Linked DNA regions of Homo sapiens: regions 1, 2 and 4 are each linked to region 3. Evidence: promoter capture Hi-C in human tissues and cell types (Jung and others, 2019). All regions are on one chromosome and are shown on one strand. Each heading gives the region's core, a stretch centred on a gene start or on the middle of the fragment in contact. The rest is flanking DNA. Distances are from core to core; before and after follow the strand shown. Region 1 overlaps BNC2 (basonuclin zinc finger protein 2). Region 2 overlaps BNC2 (basonuclin zinc finger protein 2). Region 3 holds the start of BNC2 (basonuclin zinc finger protein 2). Region 4 overlaps BNC2 (basonuclin zinc finger protein 2).

Region 1 (2,700 bases), core at 170-2,669, 210 kb after region 3:
CTGCTTAATAGGAGTCTCCAAAGCAATAGAAATATTAATATATTGGAACTCTGATGGAGGGAATCCCTGAGTGCAGAGAGGAAACTGATAACACTAAACTTTAATGGCCTCGGAAATTATGAGACAGAGGACTCCAGAGTCTTCTATAATACATACCTTAGCTTTGTTTTCATCTCTGGGGAACTAACATACAGCTATATAGTATACTGATCACTTCCCCATATACTATTGAAGTCAGTCTCCAAGTAAACTTGTGATTTAGTAAGGGCAGGTGGTACATGCTGTTTTATAAATGAGGAAACTGGTTGAGAGAGTTTATGTGGTTTATCCAAGTAAGTTCAAACAGTTAATAAGGACTAGCTATAGTAAGACTTAAAACCTAGGGTTTTTTTGTTAGAAGATGAGTATATTACCCATTACATCTGTTCTTCTGATGATACAGGAATGAGGTAAGGGCTCACACCTTCTTTCTCTCTAGGAATGAAGAAAGGAACCCCTAGGTTGTAAAATCAATTTTACCACATGACGTTGGGAAGGTTAATTGCTTTTCTTGAGCCTCAGTTTCCTTACATTTAAAATGGGAATAATGGTATATACACTTTAGAATATTTAGGATTAAGTTAGATCATCTACAGTCATCCTTCAGTATCTGTAGAGAATTGGTTCCAGGACCTCCCTCAAATACCAAAATTTGAGGACGGTTTAGTTCCTTATAAATGGCATTACTATGCATATAATCTATGTCCATCCTCCCGTACACTTGAAATCATCTCTATATTACTTACAATACATAGTATAATATAAAATGTAAATACTATGTAAATAATTGGTATACTGTATTGATTTTTAAATTACTATTATTTTTATTGTTGTGTTGTTATTTTTTTTTCCTGAGTATTTTCAATCTGCAGTTGGTTGAATTCATGGATGCAGAACCCACAGATACAGAGGGCCTATTGTATAGCAGTCATATTGGCTGGCACATTCTGTGGAAACTTAGTTTTTCCCCCTTTTTGTCCTTTCTCTTTTTCTGCTATCCAATAAAGTTTGGCTTTGTTTGTGAAGGCTAATTATAGTCCGTGCTATTGGATACCTTAGGCAGCTTATGTTCTGCTAAAGAGTAGGAGGTGCACACATAAACAAGGAACTAATACAAAGTGGTATGTATTTTTTTTTTTTTTTTGAGATGGACTTTCGCTCTTATGGCCCAGTCTGGAGTGCAGTGGCACGATCTCAGCTCACTGCAACTTCTGCCTCCCAGGTTCAAGCTATTCTCCTTCCTCAGCCTCCCTAGTAGCTGGGATTACAGGCGTGTGCCACCACGCCTGGTTAATTTTGTATTTTTAGTAGAGACAGAGTTTCTCCATGTTGGACAGGCTGGTCTTGAACTGCCAACCTCAGGTGATCCGCCCGACTCGGCCTCCCGAAGTGCTGGGATTACAGGCTTGAGCCACCGCGCCCGGCCCCAAAGATGTGTAATTTTCAAGGGGAAGTCCAAGACATTGTGGGCAAGGGATGCAAAGTGCTAGTAAATAGTACAATTGGAGAACAACTAATTATGGGGTCCCTAGTGTGAGTAAAACTTATTTGGGGGTGAGATGTTAGATTTGTAAAATATTTTGCAGGGAATAATTTGGCTGAATACAGATATTAACTGAACATATAATTCTGTTTCAGGCATCTATTTGGTTGCTGGAGGTACAGTGTAACAAAGTCCTTTCCCCTTGGAGATTATATTCTAGTGGAGAAGACAAATAGTAAAGAACATATAAGATAGGGAGTATAATAAGGGCTATGAAGAAAAAAGCAGAGAATAAGGGGATGGGAAGTGAGGCTAGAGAGGAGCCTGTTATTTTACATCGTGTGGCCAAGAAAAGCAACGCTGAGGAGATGACAGTTGAGCAGAGAACTGAATAAAATGAGAGAGCAAGCCCTGCACAGATCAAGGGAAGAATATTCTAGCAGAGAGAACAACAATGACAAAGACCCTGATGCAGAAACAAGCTTGGTAATTTTTTTTTTTTTTTTTTTGAGACGGAGTCTCGCTCTGTCACCGGGCTGGAGTGCAGTGGTGCAATCTCGGCTAACTTCAATTTCCGCCTCCTGGGTTCAAGCGATTCTCCTGCCTCAGCCTCCCGAGTAGCTGGGATTACAGGCATGCACCACCACACACAGCTAATTTTTGTGTTTTTAGTAGAGATGGGGTTTCACCATGTTGGCCAGGATGGTCTCAATCTCCTGACCTCCTGATCTGCCCACCTCGGCCCCCCAAAGTGCTGTGATTACGCGTGAGCCACTGTGCCCGCCGCAAGCTTGGGATTTTGAGAAGCAGCGTGGTTGCCAGTGAACAGGGGTCCTGAAATTGCAGAAGGGCACGATGAAACGGAGAGCCCTTTTACATGGCGGTACAATAGAATTTGACTGTAATACTATTGTCAGGGCCCTCTGCATTAAGTCAGTGCACGTGTGTGCATTCACATGCCCCCCCCCGCCATCCATCTGCCATTTACCCACACCTGTCCATCTATCCATCCATTCAGCCATTCAGCAAATATTTATTGAGTACCTCTCTTAAGTTAGCCACTGTTCTAGGACCTAGCTCTCAAATGAATTCATGCTTAAGTTTAATCACATTCAAAAAAAGAGACAGTTGCGATGATCAATGGTTTGTGTATCGGCGTAATGTATTTTTCTGATCCT
Region 2 (2,730 bases), core at 213-2,712, 140 kb after region 3:
GTTTGAGCAAATCCATTTAGCAGGTGCAGTACTGTATATTTATGAAAAAATATTTTTTAAAACTTAGAAAGATATCCTGCTGCTTTTAAGGCTCGTGTTGTGGCAGTAACATGTTATATTGCAGACGTGTTTCAGCCAGGGCCACCTCAGTCCATGATATCTGAAGGAGCTCAGTTTGCCTATACTGGGTAGCATTTTGTCAGAAGACTGCTGGCTGGGCAGACTAGATTTGGATGTATTAGCTAGTCAGCCTAATAACCCTGTACAGACTGTATTGATTTTCTAGGAGAGAGTTTATGAACTAAATAAACTTGGGGTTGGTGTCTTAATAAACTGCTTCTCTCAGTCTGTCACATTTAGTTACGGAGCTGTGCAGTTTAGGGGGAAAAAAGGCTAATTCTGTTACAGATTGTTCACAGCAGGGTCTCCAAATTAGCCCTTTGTTTTGTAATGCCACCTTGCTTGGGCTTGCTTTGAGCACATTTCTCAGTTTTGCCCTAATGAGTTGCAACACTGATAATGTGGCTGATGATCTTTCATTGATTTCACTATCACTTGCTTGTCTGGTAATTGATCCGTTGCTGAGCCTCTAGTTAATTATATCGGCTTTGACATGGCCCGGTCCACGGGGAATTTCAAGTCTTGCAGAATAACAGTTTTAATAAAAGAGTCTATTACTGCAGGTGCTTGCTGCTGCATGCCAGTTGATTTTTGTGTTGTTAGTGTGTGTGTGGGGTGTTGGGTAGGATACCTGGGAAAGAAGAGGACTGCAGGACTGAGAAAAAACGGGGTGGGGGCTAGAAAAAGAGGAAGAGGGAGTGAAGGAGGGGGAGAAAGAGACAAGGAGAGGGCGAGTGAGAGGCGAGAGAGAACACAGGCAAAAACACACAGGCAAAGCGATACAACAGAGCCTGAGTGGAAGGAGGAGGAAGCTTGCTATTGACAGTGTCCTTAAGCCTCCCACAAATAACAGCCATTAGTGGGAAGGTCAGGAGCTGAGCAGGCAGCTTGACTGAGGCACTGAGTGCCACTTCAGAAATCAAGAGGCTAGCAAATTTTAGAGGGAGTTTAAGTGGGTAATAGCTAGCACTAAAGGTACAGTCACTGTTGACAATTGACTCGTAGGGGATTTTCCTGCCCTCCCCCCCAGCAAGAATATTTTTATTGACCACAGGTGGACTTAATATATTTTAAGGCAACAATTCTTTGGGTTCTTGTTTGTTTCCTCTCAGATATTGAATTTGCTTCTTTTGAGACTTTTTTGTGCTTAATGGTGGGGAACTGGAGGGAAGTTTAACAGAAAAGCTTTCAGGAGATGTCGGTTCTAGAGGGGAAGGCACATTTGTGTCAACATAGTGTACGTTTTCTCATCTTTTCTCATTGTCCACTAATGACACAGAGCTGCCATTGAAGCTCTTTTCTGTTTCTTTTGTTGTTTCAGAGAGTAAGGTTTATTGTTATTCTTGAGTTAAGAAGGAACAAGGAGAGTGGTACATTTGTCCTCGATATTTGTAGGTGGTTGAAGATTAATGTTCCTTACATGTTAAGTTTAGGAAGGATGGCTTTTTCCTGCTGACTACTTTTATGAGATGGCATGAATTTAGCTTTCCATTTTGAACTTACTGTTTATGTACAGTGCATTTTGTTCAGTGCTGCTTTTCCATAAATAAGGCAGACAAATACTATCTAATAAATAGGTGAATAGTTTTAAGACTTGTTTAATTAAAAATACGACATGTTATCAAGGGTGTATTTCATCAGGCAGGAAAACGTTATAGAATTTTCCACAGAGATCTTGAATAAAAAATGGAGTTTTTATATTCATTACTTTTTGCCTGAAATGGGACAGGCTTTTTTTGTTTATCTTTTTCTTTTCTTAACGATTTGAAAGGATATTGCAGATGCTTCATCTAGGAACTTTAACAAAGGATTTTTTTCTACTTCTGAGCTTTAAGAAAAGGTATACTTTTTTCCTTTGCCATTCAGTTTCTCATTAGCTAACATCCAGTTTAGTAATTAATAGCCTGAGGTACTAGATATTAAATAGTATATATTTATATTTGGCAAATGTTTATTGTGCATCTTCTATGTTATAAAAACTGCTAGGCTTATTTGCTTACTCTTTAGAGTATAAGGTCACATCTCTATGTACGTTATTTAGGAGTTTCTATGTGGTTATAAATAGCCCAGCACATACGAGATGACTTTCAGGAGCTAACATTTAGACCATAACTGAGCCAACTTTACATTCTCTTACAGCTGAATATTTTACTTTCTTCAGTGTAATTAAAAAAAAATTTAAGTATCACAGTTTTACAAATGTTAAAGCCAAAGACTGGTGTCAGATATTATGTGTTATATCAGAAAGCATTGTTGAGAAAAATTCCCGGGGAAGGGCCCTAGCTTCCCCTTGCCCTGTGCACCGTGATTGTGGTGCTGCCTGGAGTGTGCATAAGTGTGTATCTATCTGTATATCTGGAGAGGGGTTAGTGCAGGGTGTCATTTGGTGCCTGACAGTGGAACAGTGCAGTTGACTCTTAGCTCTGCTATCCAATGACATGCAGTGGCTGAGAGTTTGAAGCTGATGGTTGGGTCTCCAGTGCCGCCTGCACACCTGACAGGCAGCTGTTAAACTGAGCAAAGGCAAGCTTGGGGAGTCACAATCTATGCATAAATGATAGGGATATCTGTGCAGAAGGTGCGAAAGAAGCTCTGACCCCCTCCCTCCCC
Region 3 (2,700 bases), core at 193-2,692:
AGTTATGATAAATCTGCATAACTCGGAGATGTTTTTGGCACAAAGTGTACGTTAGTTAGATGATGATGATTAAGCTCCCCCCCCACCCCCGCCCCATTCTTGCGGCCGGGGAGTGTGTTTTGCCTGTATTTAAGAAATATCGTTCAGCTGCAGGCGTGTGCGCGCTTAGGCTGTAGTCGGCGTTTCTGAGTCTCCAGGGCAGGGTGACTTGGGTCGGCTGAGTGTCACCCACAGATGTGACTGTTCTTTCCCCCGCGGGCGCGACAGCCTCCTTCCTCTCCAGCCCGAGGCCCGCGGCCCAGACCACGGGAAAGGGAAGGAAGCCCTCGCCGCAAGCCGGCGTCTGGGCCGGCACAAAACGCTCCGCCACCAGAAAAACTTTTTTCCCCCAGCTGCGCGCAACTTTTGGCCTTTTCTCCCAGCACGTTCGCGTCCCAGGTTTCTGTCCGCTGGGTTTTCCTCCGCCTCACTCGCCTTCTCCCCAGCGGCGCGCGGAGGAGCTGGGCTGAGAGGGTCGCGGGGAGCCGGGTCGGCCGCGGCTGGGACGCTGGGGAAGGGGCAGGGGAGGAGGGGGCGTGCGGGGCTGGGGAGGAGGAACTGGTCAAAGGGGACAGAGACGCCCGAGTGCCCGAAAAGGAAAGAGCTGCCGCGGTTTGCTGCAGTCGGAATAAAGTTCGCGCCCTTTCCTCGGCGTTTCGCAGCCTCCTCTCCTTGCTCCGCTCCCCACCCCCGCCCCGCAATTTTTTTTTGTGTGTGTGTGACAGCTGGGCGCTAGCGGCCACCTCTACCTCCACGCCCGCAGCTCCCCGGGGGGGGGGGGGGGCGCCAGGGTTGTTTTTCCATCCCCACAAAGTTGTTTTTTCCATCCCCAGAAAGAGAGAGCAAGAACAACCCAAACAACAAACAAGCCCCCAAAGAAGTCACGGGGCGGTGGGGGGAGGGAGAAACATACATCCTCCTTCCCCAAGCCCCTGGACCTCTGAGGACAAACAACACAACGACCGACTTTTATTTTGCAAAAGGGAAGCAACATTGTAGTCACGACAATTCTGCAGAGAGAGGAAAAACTTGTGGGGCTTGCACGGCCGCCGAGGTCACCTCGCCCGCCGGTCCCCCGCCTCCCGCGAGCAGGGCAGCCCCCTCCCGGGACAAGCCGTTCCCTTTTTTTTTTTTTTTGTCCCGAGGAGGAGCCGGGGAACCGTGCCGGCTGGGACTCGGGGCGCGAGCGCGACCCCGGCGCGAGTGTAAATCAGTCACCTGAGCGCAGAGGGGCCGCGGCGAGGGCGCGCGCGGGCGGGCGGGGAGGCGGAGGCGGCGAGAGCGGAGGCCCGGAGGAACTCGGAGGGGGAGGGAGAGAAAGGCCGAGACGGAGGGAGCCAGCGGCGGCCGAGGGGCTGGTCCAGGCGCGGCCGCTAAGAGGAGACCAAGAGGCGGGGGCTGCACTTGACAACCAGCATGCCGAGATGGTAAGAAGTTTCCACCCTCCTTCCTCTTTTATTCTAGACTTCCTCAGAAATGACCCCCGCGCCCGAGCGCCACCGGGGCCGCCCGGGGGCCGTGTCCGCCCTCCGGCCCGCGGCGTGAGGGGCAAGGGGCGCTGAGGAGGGCGGGCCGGGGACCAGAACCCCGGTCCGACCTGATCCCCGCTGCGCTCCCAGTGGCCTCCCCTAAACTTGGCCCCAAGTTTCTGAGGCGAGCTCTAGGTGGGAGGGTGCACGTGAGAGGGGGCTTCTCAAGGTCGGCCCCGCTCGCGGCTTCCGCGCGAAGGTGAGCGGCTGGCTAGGGGAGGCTCCAGGGCGTTGGGGACGGGCTGGGGGGACGAGGTGGAGGGGAGTGGGGGATGAATGGAGCGCTGGCAGGAGCTCGGGGAAGAGAGGAAGGCGGCTGGGACCTACGGGAACTTTTACAACTTGCCGCCGAGTGAGGGACCGGCGGCTGGGCGTGGGTGCCGGGTGCGCTGGGGCGCAGCCGCCCGGGCCCGGCACGTTGACTCTTCCTCTCCCCTTGTCTTCACATTCGGAATCTTCCCGTGGTAAATGGAGATGGGAGGAAATGCTCCCGCAGGCTTTACGGAGAAGGTGCAGAACGCAGGGCAGGAAAATCAACCTTGCAGAGACGGCTCTTTTCGAAGTGCAATTCTATAGGAGCCGATTTGTTTTACTTGCACGTTGACTGGAGGGTGGGATTTGGGGCCTGGGGAGGGAGCAGAATAAAAAATTATATATGCTGAAAAACCCTAGGTGAAATCTCCTGTGAAGTGAGTTTAAGGTTGAAAAAAAGTTCCAAGTGCAAGTGGTGGAGGAGATGGGCTGGCTTTGCCAAGCGAGACTCCAGCACAGCCCCTCTACGAGAAGCGACTTCTTTGCAGCGAGGAAGCGTGCAATTAGTTCGCCTGGTGATGAGCCGCTCTGTCCGCTTTCGGGGAAGTGATTTGTTAGAAATGGGGCTTGACCACTCCCTTCTTTTTAGTTTGCTTCCTCCCAGCGTCGCTATTGTTACCCCCACTTGGGGATCTGACATGGTGTATTCCGTATATAGAGGGAACATATGAGAATACAGGTGAGATAGCGGGTTGGCATTTTTTCCTCTTCCCTGCTCCCTAATGTGACATCTCTTGTTTCAGTGATCAAAGTCACAACTGGAGTGTAGGAGATGGGACTGTCAAATGCAGGGGCGCGTACACACACACACACACACAAA
Region 4 (2,700 bases), core at 50-2,549, 180 kb after region 3:
TGGGCACTGACCGAGACTATTGGTCTTGTCTGTCAGTGTGCTGCCCACCCCCAGAGGGTTGGGTTCTTCAGATTTTATTCATGCACGTTCTCTGGAAACTCTTTACTTTTTAATAATTTATAGGCCAGGCTGCTAGCATAAGAGAACTCAGAAAATTACCTTATATTTTAATTGTGAAACGGTTGGTTGCAGGAGGGGCAGATATGCTGCTTCTTGCCACTCTCACCCCCTCATCCCCCAGTGAAGTCTTTTTTTTTTTTTTTTTTTTTTGAGACTGTCTTACTGTGTTGCCCAGGCTGGAGTGCAGTGGTGAGATCTCGGCTCACTGCAACCTCTGCCTCCCAGGTTCAAGCGATTCTCCTGCCTCAGCCTCCCAAGTAGCTGGGATTACAGGTGCCCGCCACCATGCCCAGCTAATTTTTGTATTTTTAGTAGAGACGGAGTTTCTCCATGTCGGCCAGGCTAGTGTCGAATTCCTGACCTCAGGTAATCCACCCACCTTGGCCCCCCAAAGTGCTGGAATTACAGGCATGAGCCACGACGCCCAGCACCCAGTGAAGTCTTTAACACTAAGTCCCTCTGAGCTGACAGCGATCTTTTCGGTCATTCCAAACACAGCATCACTCTAGGAAGCCTTCTAAAAGATGATTGAGTTGGCCCTTGGTCCCTAAGTGAGACCAAGTGACTCTGTCTCTTTTTAGTTTCCCCAGTTGCTTATAATATTCCTTTGACCCTTGTGGCTTGCTTTCCTTTCCCCTATGCGGCTTCCATCGTGGTCTCAAAGTTCTCAGCCTTCATTGGATTGGTATGCTGTGGTGCTGCTTTTGTGGGCTGGGGGCAGAGTACCATTTACAGATATACTGTGTACCTACTGAATCCTTAGGTGCTTTACATGTGTCATCTCATTCAACCTTGCCAACCCTGCACAATAAATATAAGTATCCTCATTTTACAGGTGCAGGAAACAAGGCTCGGAGATACGTAACTGAGCAACTTTACAAGATATTGCGGTAGAGATTTAAACAGAGATCTAATTGCAAAGCTAGAACTCTTTCAGTATTACCTGTCTTTAAGATAGCTGGAGTTGAGTGTTGAGGATAGAAAGTAAGTTAACCTGGGTGTGGCATACTTGAAATTGCATTTAATGTCAGTTGTCAGAGTTGACAATGTATTTGCCCATAAGCAACAACCTGTGGTGTTCAATTTCCAAAATAATGTATTACAAGAATGATTGCAAACCAATAGAATAATAGAATTCTGTACCTTTTTTTCTTAAATATAAGAACCCGCCGGGTGCAGTGGCTCACGCCTGTAATCCCAGCACTTTGGGAGGCCAAGGTGGGCAGATCACTTTAGGTCAGGAGTTCAAGACCAGCCTGGCCAGCATGGAGAAACCCCATCTCTACTAAAAGTACAAAAATTAGCCAGGCATGGTGGCAGGCACCTGTAATCCCAGCTACTCGGGAGAATGAGGCAGGAGAATCACTTGAACCCGGGAGGCAGAGGTTGCAGTGAGCTGAGATTGCGCCACTGCACTCCAGCCTGGGTGACAGAGTGAGACTCCATCTTTAAAAAAAAAAAAAAAAAATGGCTGGGCACAGTGGCTCATGCCTGTAATCCCAGCACTGTGGGAGGCCGAGGCGGGCATATCATGAGGTCAGGAGATCGAGACCATCCTGGCTAACGTGGTGAAACCCCATCTCTATTAAAAATACAAAAAATTAGCTGGGCGTGGTGGTGGGTGCTTGTAGTCCCAGCTACTCGGGAGGCTGAGGCAGAAGAATCGCTTGAACCCAGGAGGCACAGCTTTCAGTGAGCCAAGATCGCACCACTGCGTTCCAGCCTGGGTGACAGAATGAGACTCTGTTTCAAAAAAAAAAAAAAAAAAAAAAAGAACCCATACCCATCCGTGGATCTGGTACAAGTGACTTCATTCTCATTTTCTCCAATGCTAAAACCCAGGTAAAGCAAGAATTGCAGGAAGTACGTGAAATCTGTCCAATAGTAGGATGTTTTTCGAGTAAAGCACTAGCGAAGTCATTGAGAGAACTTTGTCTTAATTTCACTTCTATCCATTTTTATCAAATGTAGAGGGAGACCATAGTGATAGGTCTCAGTTTTCTCATTTAGAAGTAAAAGGAGTACAATGGAAATTTCTCCCCTTCCTTACTTGTCTGATGTGGGAATTAATAAATATTACGTGTAAAGCCCTTTGAGCACTCTGGAAGAAAGATTCTATGTAATTTTAGCATTATTCGTGGTCCATTAGGCTCCTCAGGGTGTCACCAGGGAAGAGAGATTTTTACCTTTTATCCCATATTTCACAGTATAAAAACAAGGTATTTCTGTTGTTGTTTGTGGCTGTGAAAAATCTCCTGTAATTGTACCTGCAGAGGTTGCTCCTATCACAGAGCCCAGGGCACTGTTCTTTGGCAGCTCACCCCAGAGGATCAGCTCCTGAGGGAAGAGCAAGAGTGAACCTTAGTGAAATAGCTCCTGGTGGCTGTGAGGACATTGTGCCTGCTCCACCCCGCACCCTGGCATCCCCCCACCTCCGTCACCTTCTGTGTCTTTCAACCTGTTGCATAACAGAATCACATACTGATTGACTCTTTTCCATTTTCTTTTATCTTATGCTGATCCTATAGTTCATTGCTCTGAGATGACTCCAGAGGAGATCTGTGTCTCCTTCAGGCACTG

What was found. The method cuts DNA at HindIII sites, captures the fragments that hold promoters and counts their contacts. A contact is called where the count stands out against the background at its distance.
Region 1: a fragment that was not itself captured here is called in contact with the fragment with the promoter of BNC2 in region 3 in 1 of the 25 tissues and cell types used here (IMR-90 fibroblasts).
Region 2: a fragment that was not itself captured here is called in contact with the fragment with the promoter of BNC2 in region 3 in 1 of the 25 tissues and cell types used here (mesenchymal stem cells).
Region 4: a fragment that was not itself captured here is called in contact with the fragment with the promoter of BNC2 in region 3 in 1 of the 25 tissues and cell types used here (dorsolateral prefrontal cortex).

The regions. Positions count from the first base shown.
Region 1 is chr9:16,658,938-16,661,637 of GRCh38, reverse strand. All of the region lies in intron 3 of BNC2 (basonuclin zinc finger protein 2), which reads left to right. Among named protein-coding and RNA genes, the nearest start is that of BNC2-AS1, 67 kb to the left of the region's middle. The HindIII fragment of the contact is 4,475 bases long and covers 1-2,700 here.
Region 2 is chr9:16,728,108-16,730,837 of GRCh38, reverse strand. All of the region lies in intron 2 of BNC2 (basonuclin zinc finger protein 2), which reads left to right. Among named protein-coding and RNA genes, the nearest start is that of BNC2-AS1, 2.7 kb to the right of the region's middle. RefSeq lists an enhancer at 142-689. The HindIII fragment of the contact is 4,009 bases long and covers 1-2,730 here.
Region 3 is chr9:16,869,412-16,872,111 of GRCh38, reverse strand. It overlaps BNC2 (basonuclin zinc finger protein 2), which reads left to right and starts at 1,442. Exons shown (of 7, transcript NM_017637.6): 1 at 1,442-1,466. The coding sequence starts at 1,464. The HindIII fragment of the contact is 8,994 bases long and covers 1-2,700 here.
Region 4 is chr9:16,690,698-16,693,397 of GRCh38, reverse strand. All of the region lies in intron 3 of BNC2 (basonuclin zinc finger protein 2), which reads left to right. Among named protein-coding and RNA genes, the nearest start is that of BNC2-AS1, 35 kb to the left of the region's middle. The HindIII fragment of the contact is 4,232 bases long and covers 1-2,700 here.